Linked DNA regions of Homo sapiens: all the other regions are linked to region 4. The links are contacts of gene promoters, found by promoter capture Hi-C in human tissues and cell types (Jung and others, 2019). All regions are on one chromosome and are shown on one strand. Each heading gives the region's core, a stretch centred on a gene start or on the middle of the fragment in contact. The rest is flanking DNA. Distances are from core to core; before and after follow the strand shown.

Evidence for each region. Contacts are between HindIII fragments. The study calls those that stand out against the background at their distance.
Region 1: a contact is called between a fragment that was not itself captured here and the fragment with the promoter of LURAP1L in region 4, in 3 of the 25 tissues and cell types used here (dorsolateral prefrontal cortex, hippocampus and mesenchymal stem cells).
Region 2: a contact is called between a fragment that was not itself captured here and the fragment with the promoter of LURAP1L in region 4, in 1 of the 25 tissues and cell types used here (dorsolateral prefrontal cortex).
Region 3: a contact is called between a fragment that was not itself captured here and the fragment with the promoter of LURAP1L in region 4, in 1 of the 25 tissues and cell types used here (hippocampus).

Annotation. Positions count from the first base shown.
Region 1 is chr9:13,066,436-13,069,743 of GRCh38, forward strand. No RefSeq gene overlaps it. Among named protein-coding and RNA genes, the nearest start is that of SNORD137, 95 kb to the left of the region's middle. The HindIII fragment of the contact is 4,557 bases long and covers 1-3,308 here.
Region 2 is chr9:13,282,875-13,286,118 of GRCh38, forward strand. No RefSeq gene overlaps it. Among named protein-coding and RNA genes, the nearest start is that of MPDZ, 4.8 kb to the left of the region's middle. The HindIII fragment of the contact is 5,710 bases long and covers 1-3,244 here.
Region 3 is chr9:13,134,114-13,137,450 of GRCh38, forward strand. MPDZ (multiple PDZ domain crumbs cell polarity complex component) reads right to left here. Exons shown (of 47, transcript NM_001378778.1): 30 at 2,599-2,690; 31 at 1,979-2,069. Among named protein-coding and RNA genes, the nearest start is that of MPDZ, 140 kb to the right of the region's middle. The HindIII fragment of the contact is 5,271 bases long and covers 1-3,337 here.
Region 4 is chr9:12,773,669-12,777,051 of GRCh38, forward strand. It overlaps LURAP1L (leucine rich adaptor protein 1 like), which reads left to right and starts at 1,352. Exons shown (of 2, transcript NM_203403.2): 1 at 1,352-2,359. The coding sequence starts at 2,048. All of the region lies in intron 2 of LURAP1L-AS1 (LURAP1L antisense RNA 1), which reads right to left. The HindIII fragment of the contact is 5,707 bases long and covers 1-1,928 here.

The DNA.
Region 1 (3,308 bases), core at 398-2,897, 290 kb after region 4:
ATCTATTTTCTCTGTTCCTTTTCTGACTTTTTAAATATCTCTAATTAAATATATATAATATATATATAAACCTTATATATAATATATAATAAACTTTAGTTAACTAGTAGAGGATAAACCTGCTTCTGCTTCACTCAAAGATAACTTTATATATATGTATATATGGTTTATATATTACATAATTTGCATCAGTTATCCTGGGTAATAACTGCCGGAGAGATGGGAGTATATATATATGTGTGTGTATAGATAGGTAGATAGATAGATAGATAGATAGATAGATAGATAGATAGATAATCTTTGAGTGAAGCAGGTTTATCCTCTACTAGTTAATTAAATAAAGTTCATGCATTGGAGACAAGTATTCTAAGGAGAATTTTTTTTCTGTTTTATACTAAAGTTAAAAGCTTTATGGCATAGATACTTTATGGCACAGGGCTGAGCGTGTGTGTGAGTGCGTGTGTGCTTCTTTATGGTATAAAATAACTTTCAGGGAAGATCTGTCACTAGTCCAATTACCCGCTTCTGTTGTTCAAAAGAAGGCATTGCTCCTAGGAGGTATGTCAATTTTGGAGAATTCCAGCTGTTTAGTTTCACAGCCCCACATAGAAAATCTAGGTTTCCCTTGGCATCCTTATTTAACCAGCACTGCATCTGGCAATCCTTCTTAGATACTGTGATTTAAGATTTAAAAAAAAACACACACACACACACACACACACACACAAAAAAACCTTCCTACTGTCATCAGAGATAAAATCTGTGTCTGTATGCCATTATACTTGTTCCTTTGGGGTGATTTCTAAATCAAGGGAGGAAAATAAAATGAACTTGATTCCATCATCTAATACGTGGAAGCTCCCTCTTTACAGATAATTTGTATTTTTATTTATATTTCATTTTATTTAAAAAAATCTTACTTTTTAAATATAGAAAAAAATCACACCCACTCACATATAGTCCATTGATCTTTGACAAAGAAACAAAGAAAATTTAATAGAGAAAGGTTTTTCTTTTCAACAAGTGGGGCTGGAACAGTTGGGCATTCATGTGTAAAAATATAGATCTAGACACAGACCTTACACCTTTCACAAAAAAAACTCAAAATGAATTATAATCCTAAATACAAAATGCAAAACAATAAAACTTCTAAGAAATAATATGGGAGAAAATATAGGAAACATTGGGTTTGGCAATAAGCTTTTAGATACAACACCAAAAAAATAAAAAAAATGCAAGAAAAAATGATAAGATAGACTATCAAAAAAATAACTTCTGCTCTGTGAAAGACACTGTCAAGAAAAACATCTTGAGAAAAATCAAGACACAGACTGGGAGAAACTTGAAAATAAGCAAAAGATCTGAACAGACATCTCATCAAAGAAGATGTACATACATCAAACAAGCACATGAAAATACTTTCAACATCACATCATTGGGAAAATTGTAAATTAAAACAACAATGAGAGAGCCAGGCATGGTGGCTCATACCTATAATCCCAGCACTTCAGGAAGCTAAGGTGGGAGGATCACTTGAGCCCAGGAGTTCAAGATCAGCCTGGGCAGCATGGCGAGACCCCTATCTCTACAAAATTTTAAAAACTAGCCAGGTATGGTAGCTTATGACTGTGGTCCCAGATACTCAGGAGTCTGAGGTAGAAGGATTGCTTGAATCCAGGAGGTCGAGGCTGCAGTGAGCCATGCTTGTACCACTGCAATCCAGCCTGGGAGACAGAGCAAGAGTCTGTTTTTTTTAAATAAAAACAAAAAAACAATGAGATGCCACCACAAACCTATTAGAATAGCTAAAATCTCAAACACTGACAACACTAAATGTTGGCAGGGATGGCGAGTAACAGAAACTCATCTGTTGCTGGTGGGAATGCAAAATGGTAACAGCACTTGGAAGAAAGTTAGGCAGTTAGTTTCTTATAAAACTGAACTTACTCTTGCCGCATGATCCAGCATTCACACTTCTAGGTATTTACTCAATTAGTTTGAAAACTTACCCACACACAAAAGCCTACATGTGAGCATTTAGAAGCTTTATTCATAATTGCCAAAAACTGAAAGCAACCAAGACATCCCTCAACAGATAAATAAATCGACAAGCTATGGAACATCTTAACTGAGCTATCATGCCACCGAAAACCTAGAGAAACCTTAAATGCCTATTGTCAAATGAAAGAAGCCAATCTTAAAAAGTCACATGACATGATTCTAATTATATGACATTCTAGAAAAGTCAAAAAGCTACAGAAACAGCAGAAGGATCATGGTTACCAGAAGGGGAAGAGATGAATAGAGAAAGCATGGGATATTTCTAAGGCGATGAAACTGCTATTTATGATGCTATAACGTGGGTAAATGCATTATACGTTTGTCAAAACCCATAGAACTGTCCAACATAAAGAGTGAATCTGCATGTAAACTATGGACTTCAGTTAATAATAATGCATCAATCAGATTTATTAATTATAAAAAAATACATAATGAACAATATTAATGCGGCCGGGTGCGGTGGCTCACGCCTGTAATCCCAGCACTTTGGGAGGCCGAGGTGGGCAGATCACAAGGTCAGGAGATCAAGACCATCCTGGCTAACATGGTGAAAACCCACCTCTACTAAAAATACAAAAAAATTAGCTGGGCGTGGTGGCAGGCGCCTGTAGTCCCAGCTATTCGGGAGGCTGGGGCAGGAGAAGTGAACCCGAGAGGCGGAGCTTGCAGTGAGCCGAGATCGGGCCACTGCACTCCAGCCTGGGTGACAGAGCGAGACTCCATCTCAAAAAAAAAAAAAAAAAAAAAAAAAAAATCAGGGACTTTGACAGAGGAGATAAGATGTCAAGGGAAGAAAAATGGGGAATAATAGTGGAAGTAAATAAAAGGGAAGTAATACCTGTTTGTTTATAAGGCATTTTACATCTGGTGAAATAAAACTGTTTCCAGGTTAAATTTAAATTTATAATATGCATGCTAACATTATTTCCTTACAGAATATAAATGACGTTCTGCAACTATAGGAAAATTAATTACATGTATGAAACAATTTTGGGATGATCCACCCCCTGCTTTAGTATGCCCTGAAGGCCAAACTTACATATCCGTCATTCACAAAAACTTCCCTTTTTCATAGATTCTGCTTTCACACTGCCACACCTTCTACACTTTAAGTTGCCCTAGAGTGTCTTTTAAGTCTTCATGAAAAAGACTTCAGACAAATGATTTAGAAATGGATTAATCCAACAAAGGGTGTTACCCAGTGCACGCCTGTGGCTGTATGAAATGCAAGCTAGGACAGAGTTTAG
Region 2 (3,244 bases), core at 8-2,507, 510 kb after region 4:
CTGGCTGACTGACTTTATGGTTTCAATTTGCCTCAGATGTCTCAATTAAAAGAAGAGTTCAGATAAATTTTTTTTCAGTTTGTTCAATGTTAAAAAGCATTTTAAATAATCCTTAATTTTTTCTCTCCATTGAAAAGAAGTCAAGGTTGAAAAAAGAAGATAAAGAAGAAAGAGAAGAACATTAGGATAATGGATATATATGTGTCTAGGAGAAAGCCATTAGGGGGAGAGAATGACTAAGAGAGAATCCCAGGAATGAGAAAAATGTAAAAATTATTTCTCTTTTGAGAACATACAGAGTAATCTGTCTCTCTTCATATAACAAACTGTTTATAGAGAGATAAAGGCTCTGAAATCTCCAGTGTGTCTGATTAGGCCTCATCTCTCTAAGCATGAAAGAAAGGGCATTGGGAGGTCATGACCTTCTGACCTTGAATTCATTTGCATTTGTACCCACAAAATTCTAACTCTATAAGGAAATTCCAGGAGAAAGCATTGGGGCCAGGTTAATTTTAGGAAGAAACACATCCAAACTGTTCCAGAATCTGTGCCTCAAGTTTATGCCAGCTAGAATGACATTTTGAACTATCTTACAAAATATCTTCCCTGTTATGCATACTCTGAGGGCATAAGTGAGTTATCCAAAAAGAAAATCAAGAAAAACAATAACAATAGTGAAAAGAATTTGTTCAAGTTGCATAGTATCTTTTAGGTAATACTCCCCCTTCATGATGGCAGAAAGAACAGAGGGGAAAAAATTGAGCTATTGAAAACACCACTGAGTCAGTGGATTATGTCTTACCTGAAGCCCACTCCACCTCTTGTCTTTCCACTTGTATGAGCCAATAAATTTTTTTTAGTTCTTAAACTAGTTTGAATTGAGTTTTCTGTTGTTTGTAACTAAAAGCATTCAAACTGATGAAATACACATATTAAGCCATTCACAGTGAGCTAGACAGGTACTTTTAAGTTTCAAGGAACACACTGAGATTACCTCAGTCGGAGCTTATTAAAGGATAACTAGGAATATAAGGAAAACATGAGTTTCCACTGGTGAACAGCCAGGTCTCACAGAAAATGTGACATCTTTCTGGTCACAACACAAACACACAGAAACAAAAGGTCATTTCAGAGGATGCAGCTCTAGAGATGAGATTTTCTTACAGTCTGTGTGATTCTACCATAATTATAATCCAGTATACCTCTGTCCCTATGTATCTAGCTTTTCTTCTTCCTCTAATGTTTGTTTATATTGGGTCCTTGAAAGTCTGGTAATCGTGGATGGTCTGTTTATATTTAATAATGAGGCAGTGAGCAGTGTGGGGCTCTGTGCATACCGCAAGGCTTTGTTGACTTGTACTTCACTTCTGAGAAAGCATTACACTCAGGGGCTCCTCCATTCCAGAATAAAGAAGTCTTTACTCCATAGCCATCTGATGTCTTTTGAGAGGACATTTCTGGATGTTTGCCTGAGAAATAGATGCCTGGCTGCTAGGACTTACATATGGAAGCTATGTGTGCATGCGTGTGTGTCTAGAGTGTGCATGTGGGTGTTTATGTCTGTGTATCTGTGCATGCCTGTGATGGTGGTGATAATGTCGGTTGTTCCAATACCCAGCTTTCGCTCCTGACATTTTACTTCCACTCTCCATTGTACCTAGGATTTCAATGTTACCAAGCTTCTCTGCAGTTTTGGTGGATAGGATAGCTCCCTCCTCTGCTGTAGTATCATAGACCTAGGACACTGCTTCTCAAACTAACTGCAAAGGGTCAGGTGATTTGTTTTTTAACTTCCAATGTGTCACTGACCAATGCACTAAAAATAAATTACTAGAAAAATGACATGCTTGGATGTTGTGTCAGTGTTCAATTGCTATAAAGATTTTTAAAGGTTAAGTTTTAATTTGTGTGTGTGTGGACCAGGCTGCAGACCACACTGTGGGGAGCATTATTCCAGGTGTAATGCATACAGAAACAATGCATCACGCGGATGCTTGTTTAAAATGCAGAATTTCGGCATCACCTCGACCTACTGAATCAAAATCTTCAATTTAACCAGACCCCCAGGTGATTTCTATGCACTTTAAAGTTTTTAGGCAGTTTCCACTCCATCTGTTTTTTGTCTTCCAGGAACGTGCTGCTGTATCGCTACCTAGAAAGCCTTTGCTTCAGAGCTTCAGACAGCTAGCATCTTCTCCTCATTCAAGTCACTGGTCAGATGACACCTCTGTAGAGAAGACGTCTTTGGCTCACCAGTAAGTTAGTAGCCCCTTCTCACCTCACATTGCACTGTATTGTTATCTCTGCAGCATTTATCACTATTTAAAATTGTTGCAGTCTCCCTCCTGTCTCCTACCACCATCCAGCTAGAATGTAAGCTCAATGAGAGCAGAGATTTTGTCTGTCTAATGTCCTGTCCTTTCCCCAGTGCCAGCACAGTGCCTGGCAGGTAATAGGCACTCCATGCTGCCTACACTCTGCTTCTTCGTTCCTCAGGAATTCTGCTCACTCTGAGCTTCTGTGTATTGCTTTCTCTGTATGTCTCTGAGTCTGTAATAGGAAGCCCAACTCAAACTGGCTTATAAAATTAAAAAGATGTTGGCATATGTAATAGGAAAGGTACAGAGTGAATGCAGTGATTAGGTCTAGTTCAGTGAGGGTGCAGGCCCCAGCTCTCTCTGATTCTTCTGCAATAATCAGAAAGAACTTCTGATTCTTCATGTGTCAGCTTATGGCCAAGCTGATCACTAGATAACCATCTCAGTTCCAGCTCTCAGATGCACAGAGAGTTATGTCCAGAGACCATCCATTGCAATCTCTCTCTTTTTAAAGAGTAACTCGGCCAAAAACCTCCAACAGTATTCCTTCAGCATTCCTTAGGCTGAATTGGATCATAGGCCTGTTCTAAACATATATGCACGTGGTATAATTACAAGCAATAAAATGCGCAGATCTGAAGTGTACAATTCAATAAGTTTTGACAATTATATACGCCCCCCATAGACAGTAACCAAACCATGATGTAGAATGGTCCCATCACCCCAGAAAGTGTCCTTGTGTCCTTTCCAATCAACCAGGAGTAGTAACAGTGCCTTGCCAAGCCATATTGAAATCTGAAACAAAACGAACAACAGCAATAGTGATCCTGTCTTTAAGATGTTGATGTTTTATTCATTGTGGATTTTTTACATTTTTTTTAAATATTACATTAAAATATGATTCCTCTTGATTACTGGGGTTGTTT
Region 3 (3,337 bases), core at 610-3,109, 360 kb after region 4:
TTACATTCTCTTCAAAATACTTACGAGGTGTAACTGGACAGCAATCAGTTGAGAGCACAGATAGACCAAGTGGCTTGAAGACTGCCTGGGTTTACTGTATAATGAAAACCGATGGTAGCCCAGCTAACAAATGGTGAAACTCAGTGACAGAGCATCAGCAGAAACACCATTCATTATTCTTTACTGTGTTATTTATCAAGTGAATTGAAAACTTTAATGAACGTTATTAAAATACTCCATTTCCTTAAGAGACATATTTAGTACAACTAATATGAAAAGAAAATATATTACCTTATAACCTAATTATCTTAAATAACCACGTGGCTTAGTGGAACGTTAGGAGCAGCCGGAATGAGACAATGATTTGTACATCTATCTTATGTATACATAAGCTCTATGTTTATATATTCATTTAGGAAAGAATGTTTCTCTTCCTACAGGTACCCCCACTGATAATCACCAAAGTTCCTCTAATTTTAAGCTTTTCATTCTCTACTAACTCCTTTTATTCATCATACACATGTATCCAAAGCTTTCCTAAATCAAAACAAAACCACTCTCCCAATTCTCTGTCACCCTCTAGCCACTGCCTCTCTCTCTCCTTGACTTCTTGTCCATCATTTGCTTTCTCAAAAACCACTAACAGTCTCCTAGTTACCACACCCAAGGGACTCTTTCTACTCATCTTCTCACTGGATTCTTGCTACATGGCAGCATGTAGAGCTGTGGAGTGTACCCTTGAAGGACACTCTTCTCCGCTGCTCTGCCACATGCCCTCCTGGTTCTTCATAGTCTCTGATCTCTTGGTTAGCCTTCCTCCTTACTGTTGCTACCACATGATTCTGCCCTTGGCCCTCTTTCTCTCTAAATGCTCTCTGTAGCAAGCACCTCAGCCTCCATGGCTAAGAAATGCCAAATCTGCATATACAGGAAATCATCTCTAAACTGGAGACCAAATGTCCCAATGTACATTTTTACCAGGCTATCCAACAGGCACTTCGTTCTTAACCTGCCCCAAATAGAATGTACCATATTTTTGCAAATATCTTTCTGTATTTTCTATTCAGTAAAAGACAGCCATCCCTCATGTCACTAAGTCAGATATCTGAAAACCTTGTATATCCTACCTGTTTTATTCTCCAGTCCAAAGAGCAGTATCTGGTATAAGGCAGAGTACTCAGAAAATATTTGTTGGATAAACACATCTTCAACCACTCATTTTTCCTCAGTGAGTACATTTAGTTGGGGATGAAGTATTATCAATTTGGGTCTTAAACATCTGATGTAACCATTCCCTCTTCCAGCTTTAGTTCAGGTCCTTGTTAACTGTTTCCTGAATTATTCCAATAATTATCTTACTTCCTCTAACCTCTCTCCCCTGCTACCTCTGATTTTTCTCTACAGTACTGCCAGAGAAATTTTTAACTAAACATTTCTCATTCTTTGAGCTCCACACTGCCTCAAAGACAAAGCTGGCACATGTTGGCCTATCAATGTATCCCATGATCTGACCCTGTCCCCTTTAACATTGACCCTTTCCCCACCAGCTTCCATTCCCTGCCCCTCATTGCTCAGTGATGCTCTACAATTTAGCTTCCTGCATTGGCCAAAGTCTCCATGCCATTCCTCACTCCATGCCCTCCGCTTGCAACATTTTTGCCCCCCAAATCTTCCAACATACACTTCATATGTAACCTTCCATATAAAGTTTTATCCTCAATTTCTTTTCAGAGGCAGAACTGATAACTCTTTTCCTACCCTCACTATTCCCTAGGCAGACTACAAGTACTCTTCACATAAGTGGTATGCTTATTTCCATGAGTGTCTTCTTATACTAGGATGTACACTCCTTGAAGGCCAAGGCTATAACTTATCTACCTCTAATATCCCTCTCTAAGTGTTATGTAATTGTTGATTGAATTAATAAGGCTCACATCAATCAAGTCTTCCCAGAGAAACAAACATAAGTTACATATACCTCCTTATTTTGAAGATTTTCTGAGTTAGAAGGCAAAGGTTCTACTGCATTTCCAGGACATACGGCCATCTGATTCACTGCATCTTTATTTCTAAAAGCAAAAAAACAACAACCTATTATAACATCATGGTATTATTTTCATTCTCTTACTTCAAGAGTCAGAAGGTTATTAGAGAAAATTATTTAACCCCCAAAACCTGGAACTGTGACACTTACAAATTTACAAACGTTTTCTTTTTTTTTTTTTTTTTTTTTTTTGAGACAGAGTCTCTTTCTGTTGCCCGAGCTGGAGTGTAGTGGCACAGTCTCAGCTCACTGCAACCTCCGCCTCCCAGGTTCAAGTGATTCTCCTGCTTCAGCCTCCCTAGTAGCTGGGACTACAGGTGCGTGCCACCACGCCCGGCTAATTTTTTTTTAGTAGAGACGGGATTTCACCATGTAAGCCAGGATGGTCCCGATCTCCTGACCTCATGATCCGCCCGCCTCAGCCTCCCAAAGTGCTGGGATTACAGGCATGAGCCAGCATGCCCGGCTACAAATGTTTTCTTTTCATTCAAAAGAACTCAGAGAAGAAATGCTAACAAAAAGTATTTGGTAAACTAGCAAAAGAAAATGATCACCTGATAAAAATTATTTTCACTTTAGAAGGGGCACATTTAATGATTGATGAGGCATTCTGATGACTTCTTCCATATAAAATCTGACCATTGATCTGTGAGAAATAAATATCATTAGTTGGGCCTGAAATCTTAGTATCATAAAGTTTTATCATCCTTCCTCATTAATGAAAAGCACATTTTTTCTTCCTTTAAAATATATTTTATATTAAATGTTATATATTTTCCTCCCCAAAACATGAAACTGACTTTTCATGGTGAATAAAGAATAGCTCATGTTTAAAGCCAGCATTAAAATAATGCAAATGAAGTCTGACATCCATGAACTGCTGATAAAGAGGCACCACTTGGACCAACTGCAGGAGAGTAGACAACAAATTTCCTGGCAGGCACTGGGCTCCCAGCATGCTCTGCACAAAACGAGGGCTCTGTGGAAAAACTTGCGACCTGCAAGACCATCCTGGGAAGTTCCTTACTGTCATATTTCCCACTTAGTCTCAAAACTCAAGCCCTGGAAATAGGTCACTGGGAGAAGAAATGCTAGGTAGATTCAGGATTTAGGCAGCAAACTGTGCCTAAACAGCACAGTGCCTAACGCAAATGACTGGCTCAGTCATTTGGTCATTTAGCCACTGCCTGACTGAGCCTCCTGTGTCTATAGGGAAACATACTCAGCATGAGAAGAGTATAAAGGCAGTATAAAATCATGTGGATCCCAGCCCAGGAGGGGCAAGGACAAACA
Region 4 (3,383 bases), core at 102-2,601:
AGCCTTATGCTGAACTTTGTAAGGGTTTTGTAATAATAAACTGTTCTTGACTGAAACACAAGCCTTTCATAATTACATGCCACAGTGCAATTCTTATGCAACGAGCTTGTGTTTTTCCAAATTTAGGACCAAGCATGTAGTTTTATCAGTTAGCTGGGATTTGGTCTTGTTTTCCCTTGATTCTGTAAGTGGTAGTTCTAACTTTGAAATGGGTCATCTAACTTATAACTATTTTCTTCATTTCTTTTTAAAAGGGAGAAATAGCATGCAAATTTCTGGCATGTTGATAGAAAGTTCAGCATTTTTTCCCTGACATGAAATATTTCATTTAGAATGCGTATGTTTCCTCTACGTATAAGGTTTCCTAGAGTCAGATATGATAAAAACAAACTCTGAGATGTATATACCTATGTTCCTACAAGTGTAAAACCTGAATGATGTCTCTGGAAATGGAGCCTCGGAGTGACCAGGAACACAAATACTTATATGTCACAGAAATAGAGGGGCACATACTTTGAAATATTTCAATGGAAATCAAAAATTGTAGTTTACTGGATTGAAATTAGTATCCTCTACTTAAACATTTTTGACACAAACTCAATGCTGATTCAGATCTGTAATCCATGTAGCTCATAATAACTTACTTGGTAGAAGTATTTCAGATTAATGAATTGTACAATTGTACAAATTAATAAATTGTACAATTGTTCAACTATACAATTAATTGTACAATTTGTATAGTTGAAAAAATCTATAAATTAATTTATAGATAAATTATCAAAGAAGACAACATTTTAAATAGTTATTCCCAATATTTTTTCTTCCATAATTAAAATAAAAGTAAGTATCTCAGCAATTGCTTGTTCTTAAAATTTCACTGCTATCTCAGCAGTCATGTAAGTTATTCTGGCTATTTAATTTTTCACTTTTGTTTGCATACTGTAACAGTTGGTAGGATAATTAATTTTGATTGTACATTTCCATTGAACTTTTGATGAAATTGTTTCACTCTTTTTATTAGAATAAAATTATTAGGAAAGTCTTCTAAAGAGAGGTTTTCTGTTTGTTTTTCCTTTGAGGAAGGTAGAGAGATGGGAAACGAAGACACCAAATATAAAGTCATTCCTCTATCTCTCATTTTAAAACCTGTTTTAAAGGTTGTAGCTAGTCAGGAAAACTGAAAAATCAACTGGTATTCCTAACTAAAGCAGGGCTTTGAAACTCTGCTACTAGCGACAGGGTTGGGAAAATTCCGGTTGCTCTTCTTGTCTGTGATATACGGTAGAAGGGTTGGTCCTGGTTTGGTCCACCTGCCAGCGGAGTTTAAAGTTTCCGAGGCTCAGAGGAACACAATGACTTGGATCAAACAGCCTAAATGGGAAGAAGGACATTTTTGCTGCATCAAGGAAGCCGTTAAACTCCTGCTAAGCTAACTAGCTCTTTTTTATGGGTCCATGCACACGACCGAACTCCTCTTTCACTGACCAGAGATTATTTCTGACAACCCAGGATATCCCGAAAGCTTGGAGGCATATGGCTGGAAAATGAAACGACCCAGGACATCGTTTCTGGCTGCATCATTATTTTGTGTCGCGTAGTACCAGATGGGCAGTCAGTGAGCGGCGCAGGGATGTGAACGGACGGTTTTATAATGTGAAAATTTTCCCTTGGTAAAGCTAAAACAGATTTAATTTCCCTCTCTTTTCTTTCACTACTTCCCCCTCTTTATTCCCCCTCTGTCTGCAATATCAGTGAACTCAACTTTGCAGTGAGGTGGCCAAAAAGAGAGAGAATGAGGAGATCTTGATCATCTTAGTGTCGGAGGAGTCGCAGCGGACTGGGAACTGCAGCTGCGACCCCCCGCGTCCTGTGCGGATTTCAGGGCTGATACCGCATAGGCGGTTATGGAAAGGACGGTACACCGGAGCGGCGGAGGATAGAGACCCTGGCCCCCGGAGAGGTCTGCTGATTTCGCAGCAGCCTTCGAAGCCGTGGCTGCCTTTCATCTGCTGCGTTTTATTACTATTATCGCCGTTCCGGAAAAGTCATGGAAGACAGCCCGCTGCCAGACCTCAGAGACATCGAGCTGAAGCTGGGGCGCAAAGTACCCGAGAGTCTAGTGCGCTCTCTCCGTGGGGAGGAGCCGGTTCCCAGGGAAAGGGACAGGGACCCCTGCGGGGGGAGCGGTGGTGGTGGCGGCGGCGGCGGCGGCTGCAGTAGCAGCAGCAGCTACTGCAGCTTCCCTCCCTCCTTGTCGTCCTCCTCTTCGTCCTCCCCAACCTCTGGCTCCCCACGAGGTAGCCACTCTAGCGCCCTGGAGAGGCTAGAAACCAAGCTTCACCTCCTCAGGCAAGAGATGGTGAGTGTGGTGCGCCAGCCGCGGGGGCTGGGACCTGGGCTGGGCCAAAAGATGGGGCGATCTGAGAATGGGGCTGGGAGAGAGGACGGCAGGGGCTGCAGAGCGGAGCGCTGGGCGCGTGGGAAATGCTGGGTGGAGGAATGAGCAGGGGGCGCTCATCCGGAGGCAGCTGCTGCGAGGCTTGTTTACCGCGGACTTTGCTCGGTCACGGTTTGCAAAGACAGCACAGTCGGCTGGCTCCACTCTGTGTACTTTCGGACAACGCGACTCACTGCGCCGGGCTCTATTTAGCTGCCAGCCCGTAGCCTCTTAGGCACCAGCCCGTTGAGAGTTTGCAGTTATTGCACCCATCTAAGGCCTGCTGTGCGCTGTTAACACTTCGGGTAGGTTCAAAAGGTGGCTCAGTCCAATGCACTTACTGCAAAAATACTTCCTGGTTTGCCGGGAGGTGGCGTGGCAGGGTCCTTGCAGCCTTTCCTCCTAGCTCACCCTTCCACCAGTACCGCTCCGCCCTCCTGCCCTCCCTTCTTGGTGCAGCAGCCGCAGCTGTTCCAAGGCCACTGTCGAGCAGATTCTCCACAGCTGGTTCTGAAAACAATGGCCTACTCGTCCTTGATGTACTTATGAATAGCTTGTTTCACTATTTTGATCCCAGGGAGCAGGTGATCCCCAGGCCCAGGGATCTGCTAAGGACCATCTCCCACCCTTCTCCCTCAAGTCTCAATCTGCAGTTGTTTTCCCTGCTGTTTGCAAACGTTTGCCTGAGCATAGGACAATGAGATAAGTACAAGGTCTAGGAATACTCATTCTGGAAGTATTTAGACTAAGACACTATTTACTTGCCATGAGCTCTTGGGCACGTCACTTCACTTCTGTAGACCTCTGTGAATTTGATGAGCTGGTTAGAGAAAATGATCCCTCCCTAAGTCCTTTGAAAAAAACGACCACAAAGCAACAGCATTTTCTACTAGCTTGGAGATAAGGAAAGTTGCAACAGTGGGCCTCAAAAAGAGAAAATAATTTC